Linked DNA regions of Homo sapiens: region 2 is linked to region 1. Evidence: promoter capture Hi-C in human tissues and cell types (Jung and others, 2019). All regions are on one chromosome and are shown on one strand. The core of a region is centred on a gene start or on the middle of the fragment in contact, and the rest is flanking DNA. Distances in the headings are between cores, read along the strand shown. Region 1 holds the start of FXYD1 (FXYD domain containing ion transport regulator 1). Region 2 holds the start of ZNF792 (zinc finger protein 792).

Region 1 (4,532 bases), core at 1,425-3,924:
CCCGGCGGGCGCCAAGCGGCGCTGTAGCTCCAGCTCGCCCTCGCGAGGGGCGGGGCTTGGGGGACGGGGCGGGGCTAGAGGCGAGACCGGGGGCCGGGGAACCAAGGCAGGGTAGGCGGGGCAAGGCCTGGGAGGGGTTGGGGCGGGGCGGGGCCAGGGAGGGGCGGGACCAGGGAGAAGCGGGGCCAGGGAGAGGGGGGCTAGGGAGAGGCGGGGCCAGGGAGAGGCGGGGCCAGAGAGAGGTGGGGCCAGGGAGAGGCGGGGTAGAGGGCGGGAGCTAGGGGCACTCACTCAGCACGATGAGGATGCCCAGGATGAAGAGGATCCCGGCGATGACGAGGCCTCCGATCTGCAGGGACTGGTAGTCTGTGAGCAGCAGAGCAGGGAAGGTGAGGGCAGGGAAGACAGGAGGGAGAATAGGAGAGGGGTAAATTGGGAAGGAGGGAACAGGGAGAAAGGACCAGCAGGCAGAAGGGGGGAAGTAAGATAATTAAGGGGGAGCAGATATGGGAGGAGGAAAGTGGGGTACCAGGGAGAGGAAAGGGGTGTATAGGAAAGGGAGGGAGGGGACAGGGAGGAGGAGGACAGGGGGGAGAGAAGACGGGAAGAAGCAGAGGATGGGCCACGAGATGCTGAGACAGACGCAGGCAAGAGAAAGAGAACCAGAGAGGTATCACATAGACAGTGACACAGATAGACACAGACAGGAAAAGATGCAGACAGGTGGAATCAGAGAGGAAGGACAAAATAGAGGGAAGGAGAATGACAGAGATATCAATACTGGGACTCTGGGGGAGGGCGAGGGGGAATCAAAGGACCAGCAAAGCCAGGCTCTCCCCCAGGACTCAAAATTAGACCCCCCGCTCACCGTAAGTGAACGGGTCGTGTTCCTTTGGACTTTCTGGAAAGAGAGAGAAATCAGGGGTTGAATGCTTCCTGGGGTCCTGGCAGGGAGGGGCATGAGGAGACCACTGGAGGCTCTGCCTTGCTGGGCTTAGAGTCTGAGGGTGTCTGGGCAGGCTGCCCACACTCTCTGGGTCCCAGCTGCCCCCTCTGCACTGTCCCAGATGGGGCAGGTGGCACCTAACTGCCCCAGCTCCCTGACTCACGGCAGGCTGTCTGTGACCCAGTTATCCCATCGGGGATTCAGCCCCATCCCACCCCATCTTTGCCTGATCTGGGGCTTCCTCTCCCCTCCCCCAAATACCAGCCTGTGACTGGACCCCACGTGGAGACCCCCAAACTTCTTGGTACCCCAGCCGACTTAGTCTAGGTTGGGGTCTCCAACTTGGTTCTTCGGTCCCCACCGCCACCCCTGGGGCTGAGGTGGGTAGCGGGCAGCCTCCCCTGCACTCACCTGCCTTGGCCATGGTGAGGAGACCCACACAGAAAACCAAGATGTGGCCAAGAGACGCCATTGTCCTGGGGGGGACACCACGGATTAGGCAGTGTGTGCCCTTGCTCTCCCACATAGGGCTTGAACCCAAGGGATTAAGTCAGAGACAGTCTGGGGACTGAATCACAGAAGTGTTTGTCCTCTATCTTGGTGGCTCCAAGCTAGAGAAACGGGTATCCCCAGCTTCGTGGGGACACAGTGTCACCAAAACAACCTCCACGATGGGATCACACAACAACACAACGTAGCAGGGACGGGGGTGAGACACACAGTCCCCGGGGGGCCTCCCTTGGGCCTCCACCTCCCGCAGCAGGCCCCCGATTCCCAGACCTACCCTGGCAGGGCAGAGGAGGCGCTGCCTCACACAAACACAGAGCAGGAGACAGCAGGGCACGCCCAAGTCCCACCTGCCTACATGCCCGGCCTCACTGTGCCCCGCGAAATCCCAGCTCCCTGCCCTCTCCGCCCGCCCGCTCGCGGCCTGACCCCGGGTATAAATATCTCCCACTTCACCCTGGAGGAATTCTGCTCGCTCAGGCCACCATGGCAACAGCCTGCCTTCCCCCACTCAGGGGGTCACGCACAGCCCTGCCGGGGTGAGGCCCAGCTGCCACATCGCCACAGGCTGCCCCTGTGGGAAAGGTCACCCCGTCTCCTCCCTGGGCAGCAACGAGAAAAGGAAAAGACAGCCCCTCTGCCCGCCTCTGGGTGACATCTTTCACAATCGGATGTCAGGCAAGTGACATGAGGCCCAGCCCAGTGGGCCTTAGAGATAGAAAACACATGCTGGGGCAGGGATACACACACACACACACACACACACACACACACACACACACAGTGGGGCCGGAATGGACATGAACAACAACCTCTCCCCAAACTGCTGGTTGGAGCAGGACGTGGGGTGTAAACACCGTCAGGCATCCAATACTCCTCCTCTGGGCCTCCGGTGCCCCCACGCAGTGACGCAACCAGCCCTACACACGTGTGTGTCCCAACTCCACACCCTGCCAGGGTGCACACGCACCAGCAGGGCAGGGAGGAGTCACCCACATCCCACCCTGCAGAACCCACTGCCTCAACCACACTCCCTCCCTCTTGGGTTGGCCTGCCTGGGAAGCCTCGGGCTGGCCACTCCTGCTCCCAAAATAGGCGGCCCAGCCAGACCAGGGGTGAGGCCTGGAGGGAAGGAGTGGGGGACGCTCACCCCAATCGGGCTGTCCCCTGCTGAAAGAAGGCCCCCAAACGTCCTGCTGTGCCCCGGGGGCTGAGCACTTTGGACCCCCTGGCCCAGAGCTGGACGCGCCGCCCCCAGCAGCCTCCCCTCCCAGCCCCACCCCACCCATGCCCTCCCCAACCAGCAGCTGAAACTGGAGCTGGGGCTGGAGGGGGGCCAGGGGGCGGCCCCCAGCCCAGACTGCCCTGGCCCGCTTGGTTAACTCTCTCAGTTCAGAGAGAGCAGCAGCAGGCAGCCAGCAGGCAGGCTGGAGAGGCTAGGAGGATTGTGGAGGACAGGGTTGTGAACACACACACACACAAACACACACGCCTCCAAGAGCTTTTGGGCTGAGGCGGCTGCCCCCTGGGAACTGGGTCCAGCCAGGGCCGAAGGTCACCCAGCCTGACTGCCCAGGAGCCCACTGACCCCCGATCCCAGTGCTCCGTGAGGTCCTTAACAGGGCTGTTTTAGAGGACGGGAGGGAGGTGTGTGTGTGTGTGTGTGTGTGCGCGCGCATGTGCGCTATCTGCTGTGGTGAGATCCCCAGAAATGCACCACACACACACACCCACACACAATCCCAAAGACCCAGATATACAGGTACAAAACCAGACAAAACCATGTATGTATGTACATCCATAGAAGCAGACACACACAGAATGACACACTGATAGAGAAACCCAAAGACCCGGACACACAGCCAACACCTTTTATGCCAGTCACAAAATACCAGAACAAGCACATTTATGTCTACACAGACCCACGCACGCTCATGTAGATGGATGGCCACACAGAGATACAGTCAAAGACATAGCCACATCACCATCTACACTCACAAACTGGCCACAAAAATGCATGTTTATGTGAAGACCCACCCACAAATGGCCATACAGAAACACACAAGTATGTGCACACCGCACATAAATGCATTCTAAGATGCATGGCCAAACATGGCCAGGTACGGTGGCTCACACCTGTACTCCCAGCACTTTGGGAGGCCAAGGCGGGAGGATCACTTGAGGCCAGGAGTTCAACACCAGCCTGGCCAACCCGACGAGAGCTCGTCTCTACTAAAAAAATATACAAAAATTAGCTGGGTGTGGTGGCGTGCGCCTGTAATCACGGCTACTCCGGAGGCTGAGGCAGGAGAGTCACTTGAGCCCGGGAGGCAGAGCTTGCAGTGAGCTGAGATCATGCCACTGCACTCTAGCCTGGGCAACAGAGCGAGACTCTGTCTCAAAAACAAAAACAAAACAAAAAAACCCCAAAGGTACAGACATGCAGCCAGCACTCCTACATGGTCCCAAAGATAGGAAGGCCAACAAGCTTGTGTACACACAGACAGATTTCCATGGGCACAGATACACAAGCAGAAACACCATCAAGGACAACCCGCCGCTCTCACACATACCCACAAAAGCAGAAACACACACACTGGTTCACACCCTATGCTTGAGCAAACAGGCACATGGTTGGCCACGGTGACAGATGCGCAGGCTGACACACTTGCATGTTCACACATTCCAAAACCACAGATATGTATTTAACCCCACACTTTCCTTCCCCTGAGCTCTTGTCGGGGACAACACACCTGGCGTCCCCATGGGCAGGCCAGGTTTACAGGTCCTGGTGACAGGGAAACCTGGAATGGCCCAGGCACTGCACTCCTGGTTGTGTGAACTTGAGCAGCTCTGTGCCTCATTTTCACATGCTCCAAAATGGAAAAATCACTAAGATCACGTGTATAATCCTGGACAGGGCTCAGAGGTCTCTGAACTTGACATTGTCTTATGATTAACTTCATTTTTTGTTTGTTTGTTTGAGACCGGGTCTTGCTCTGTCACCCAGGCTGAAGTGCAATGGCACAATCATAGCTCACTGTAGCCTCAACCTCATGGGCTCAAGTGATTCTCCCAC
Region 2 (4,532 bases), core at 1,299-3,798, 170 kb after region 1:
ATAGTGATGTTATCCCCAGTAGCAATTGGGAAGGTTTAAAATCTTGTGACCCCTGGCCCCTGGCTGCATGACTCCTAAACCATACTCTCTAATCTTGTGGCTTTTGTTAATCCTACAAAGGCAGTCTGGTCCCCAGACAAGAAGAGGGTTTGTTTCAGGAAAGGGCTGGGTTTTTTTGTTTGTTTTTGTTTTTGAGATGGAGTCTCGCTCTGTTGCCCGGGCTGGAGGCGATCTCAGCTCACTGCAAGCTCTACCTCCCGGGGTTCATGCCATTCTCCTGCCTCAGCCTCCTGAGTAGCTGGGACTACAGGTGCCCGCCACCACACCTGGCTAATTTTTTGTATTTTTAGTAGAGACAGGGTTTCACCATGTTAGCCAGAATGGTCTCGATCTCCTGAACTCGTGATCCGCCTGCCTCGGCCTGCCAAAGTGCTGGGATTACAGGGGTGAACCACCATGCCCGGCCTAGAGGGAAAGGGCTGTTATCTTTGCTTCAAAGTTAAACTGTAAACTGAGTTTCTCCCAAAGTTAGTTAGGCCTATGCTCAGGAACGAACAAGGACAGCTTGGAGGTTAGAAGCAAGATGGAGTTGGTTAGGTCAGATCTCTCACTGTCATAATTTTCTCAGTTATAATTTTTACAAAGGTGGTTTCACCATATGACATGTAGTATCGGGGGAACCCACCCCCGATAATTCAATGTGGGTTCTTTTCTATTTTCCCTAAGTGTCGGCTGGTCTGAGAAATAAAGGGAAAGAGTACAAAAGAGATAAATTTTAAAGCTGGGTGTCTGGGGGAGACATCACATGTCAGCAGGTTCCGTGATGCCCCCGAGCCATAAAACCAGCAAGTTTTTATTGGCAATTTTCAAAGGGGAGGGAGTGTACGAATAGGGTGTGGGTCACAGAGATCACATGCTTTAAGGGCAACAAAAGATCACAAGGCAGAAGGTCAGGGCGAGATCACAAGGTCAGGGCAAAACTAGAATCACTCATGAGCTTCCATGTCCTGCTGTGCACGCATTGTCATTTATAAACATCTTAACAGGGTTCAAGAGCAGAGAACTGGTCTGACTAGAGTTCGCCAGGCTGGAATTTCCTAATCCTAGCAAGCCTGGGGGCGCTGCAGGAGACTAGGGTGTGTTTCATCCCTATCTACATGTGCATAAGGCAGACACTCCCAGGGCAGCCATTTTAGAGGCACTGCCCTGGGAATGCATTATTTTCCCAGGGCTGTTAATTATTAATATTCCTTACTGGGGAAAGAATTCAGCGATATTTCTCTTACCCGTTTTTGGTAATAGGAGAAATATGGCTCTGTCCTGCCCGTCCCACAGGCAGCCAGACTTTAAGGTTATCTCCCTTGTTCCCTGAAAATCGCTGTTATCCTGTTCTTAAGGTGCCCAGATTTCATATTGTTCAAACACACATGCCCTACAAACAATCTGTGCAGTTAACGCAATCATCACAGGGTCCTGAGATGACATACATCCTCAGCTTACGAAGATGACAGGATTAAGAGATTAAAGTAAAGTCAGGCATAGGAAATCACAAGAGTATTGATTGGGGAAGCGATACATGTCCATGAAATCTTCACAATTTATGTTCAGAGATTGCAGTAAAGACAGGCATAAGAAATTATAAAAGTATTAATTTGGGGAACTAATAAATGTCCATGAAATCTTCACAATTAATGTTCTTCTGTCACGGCTTCAGCAGGTCCCTCCGTTCGGGGTCCCTGACTTCCTGCAACAATGTAGTGTTATTTTTCCCATTTTATTTACTGGATTTCAATGAGAGTCCCTGCTGTAAAGTTGGAGCCAGCATTGGAGTCCCCAGAGGGCTTGTTAAAACAGAGAAGGAGGCCTGGCACCATGGCTCACTCCTGCAATTCCCAACACTTTGGGAGGCCGAGGTGAGAGGATCACTTGAGCTCAGGAGTTTGAGACCAGCCTAGGCATCACAGGGAGATCCAGTCTCTACAAAAAATTTTAAAATTAGCTGTGTATGATGGTGCACGCCTGTATCCCATCTACCTGGTAGGCTGAGGCAGGAGGATAGCTTGAGCCCGAGATGGAGGCTGCAGTGAGCTATGATCAGGCCACTGCACTCCAGCCTGGACAACAGAACGAGACCCATCCCCCCCGCCCCCCCCGCAAAAAGTAGAGAAGGCTGAATCCCATCCCCAGAATTTCTGAGTCCTTAGATTTAAGTTGTTGCCCCAGAACCTGCATTTTCAGCCAGTCCCCAGGTGATGCTGATGTTGCTGGTTTGAGAAGCCCTGAATCAGAGCGACATTTAATATTACAACGCAAAGACCCCGCCCATTGGGTACTATCCCCATTTTCCAGTGTGAATTTAGGTCCCTTAGGGGTGAAGCGGCTGGCCGATGCCCACACGCGCAGGAAGAGCACTGGGGCTCTCCTCCTGGACCTCGGAGGGTGGGCGGGGTTTAGCGCGGGCGGCTGCAGGCTCGGGAGCGGCCCCTTTAAGGGGAAGGCCCGAGGGCTGCAGGCGGCGGCGGTGGAGACCCGACGAGATCCGCTCTCCTTCCCGCCCTGGACCCTCAGCCTGACGAGAGGCTGGGCAGAAACTCGCGATCCCCAGGCCCTGCCTGTGCACCAGCGGCTGGCGCCAGGCCAATGACAGTACGGGAGAGGGCAACTCTCCCGGCCGCCACGGTGGGGGCCGGAACTTCCTGCACTGCAGCCTCGCAGGTCATTTCCCGGCGGGGAGGCTGAGTCCCCAGGAGCTGGGGACCCCGAGTTGGGGGCGGGGCGGCTGGGGCTACGCCCGTGAAGCTGCCCCGCCGGCTTTCCCGGACCGCGAGGGGGACAGTGAGGCCGGGACCCCCTCCGCGCCTTTGCACCAGCCGTGACCCCTTGCAACGGGGGTACCCAGCGGAGCTGCGCGCTCTCGGCGCCCCCGGAGCCTGCGCCCCGGGCCCCTTGCGCATTTTGCACGGGGGAGACTGAGGCTAGGAGTGCGACCCTCAGCCCGGGGTCACACCTCGTCTGGGGCACGGCCAGGTGGGTGGTAGCCTCAGCCTGCGAGACCCCCTACCCCCGCCCCGTGGTTTCCCGCACCGTGGGGCCCTGCTCTGACCACAGACTCCGATGGCAGCGGCGGCGCTGCGGGACCCCGCGCAGGTGAGTGCTTGGACGTTAGGCCCTTCGCTGTCGGCCCCCCACGCTTCTGTTCTCGGTGTTGAGACGCAAAAGATGGCTTTGTTCTAGGACTTTTCGCCTTTCCCATTTCCTTGCTTTTGAGTCAGGGGACCCTGGAAGGGAGTTGCTCCCAGCTAGGATCCTGAATCAGGGCAGGGTTTATATAAAGTGGCTTCCGTTGCTGAAATGTAATGGGATGGAGGGAGAAAGGGCTTTGTAGGCACAGGAACCAGCGTGCGCAAAAGCTTGGGGGTGGGGTGGGGCACGGTGTGGAGACTGAGTTGGGAGTGTTCAAGGAACCCCACCCAGGTCAGTGTTATTAATATTATGTCTGCTGGAACCAGAGAGCAGGTGGGCTGAAGACAGCTCAGAACGGCAGAGCTGGGCCTCTGTTCTGAGGGTGTTGGGAGCCATGGAAGGTTTAGGGCAGAGGAGGAAGATGCTGTGACTCAGGTCTTAACAGGCTCCCTGTGGATGCACAGTGGAGAACTGAATATGGAGTGAGCCGCAAGCAGGGATGCCAAGGAGTAGCCTAATGGAATAGCCCAGGCCAGTGCTGCGGCTGGCCGGACCAGAGTGAGGACTGGAGGTAGAGGAAGTGATTGGGAACTTGATGTCTTTTAAGTCAAGCTGACCAAATTTTCCGATGTGGAGGGTGAGAAAGAGGAGGGAAGAATCCATGGTTTTTGGTTTGATGAATCCAGCTTTATGAACTGAGAAGTTGGTTTTAGGAGGAATTTTCCATGGAAGCAGTAGAAGTTAGGTTTTGGCCAAGTTGAGCCTGTGATGTCCCAGAGACCCCCAAATGGAGTTGAAGAGTGGGCCGCTGAACACACAGTTCGGGTGTTCTGAGGGAGTTGTTAAGGTAATGAGAGACTGGATATTCATTCGAACAATGGCCAGATCATGTATACAAATAGAACTCTGCCCCAGAACCTGCCCAGGAAACCAACCCCCTTATCTACAATAAACAACCCATACAGCAGGAAGCCAGCCTGCTGTCTGTCAGACCCACAGGAAGCCAGATTGCTATCTGGACTGACAATCCAGGAAGTAAAAACAATAACTTCTGTAATGAGCAGTCCCAAATGGCCAGGGTTTGATTAATAACAGACAGCTTTCCTCATTTTTGCTCCTGCTTCTGATTTAAGAACAACCAGAGAAAGGCAGATACGCACCCTAACCAATCACATAGGATGCCCACTTCTAGTTCACCCACCTACGAACAGGAGCCTCCAACCAGGGCACGCCTGAAGCCTTCCTTTTCTTTTGCTATAAAACTCTCCCACTCCCGGCTTGCATTGAGTCTCTCTTGCTATAGTGAGCTTTGAGTAAGTAGCCTTGGCTTTTCTCATTTCATTGGTCTT

The links. The method cuts DNA at HindIII sites, captures the fragments that hold promoters and counts their contacts. A contact is called where the count stands out against the background at its distance.
Region 2: the fragment with the promoter of ZNF792 here is called in contact with the fragment with the promoter of FXYD1 in region 1 in 1 of the 25 tissues and cell types used here (adrenal gland).

Annotation. Positions count from the first base shown.
Region 1 is chr19:35,136,966-35,141,497 of GRCh38, reverse strand. FXYD1 (FXYD domain containing ion transport regulator 1) reads right to left here and starts at 2,674. Exons shown (of 8, transcript NM_021902.4): 1 at 2,604-2,674; 2 at 1,358-1,422; 3 at 869-901; 4 at 292-366. The coding sequence starts at 1,418. RefSeq lists silencers at 1-122, 233-362 and an enhancer at 1-268. The HindIII fragment of the contact is 30,870 bases long and covers 1-4,450 here.
Region 2 is chr19:34,962,245-34,966,776 of GRCh38, reverse strand. ZNF792 (zinc finger protein 792) reads left to right here and starts at 2,548. Exons shown (of 4, transcript NM_175872.5): 1 at 2,548-3,147. The coding sequence starts at 3,115. LOC124904699 (a long non-coding RNA gene) reads right to left here and starts at 3,351. Exons shown (of 2, transcript XR_007067236.1): 1 at 3,104-3,351. RefSeq lists silencers at 2,787-3,046, 3,157-3,206. The HindIII fragment of the contact is 10,198 bases long and covers 1-4,532 here.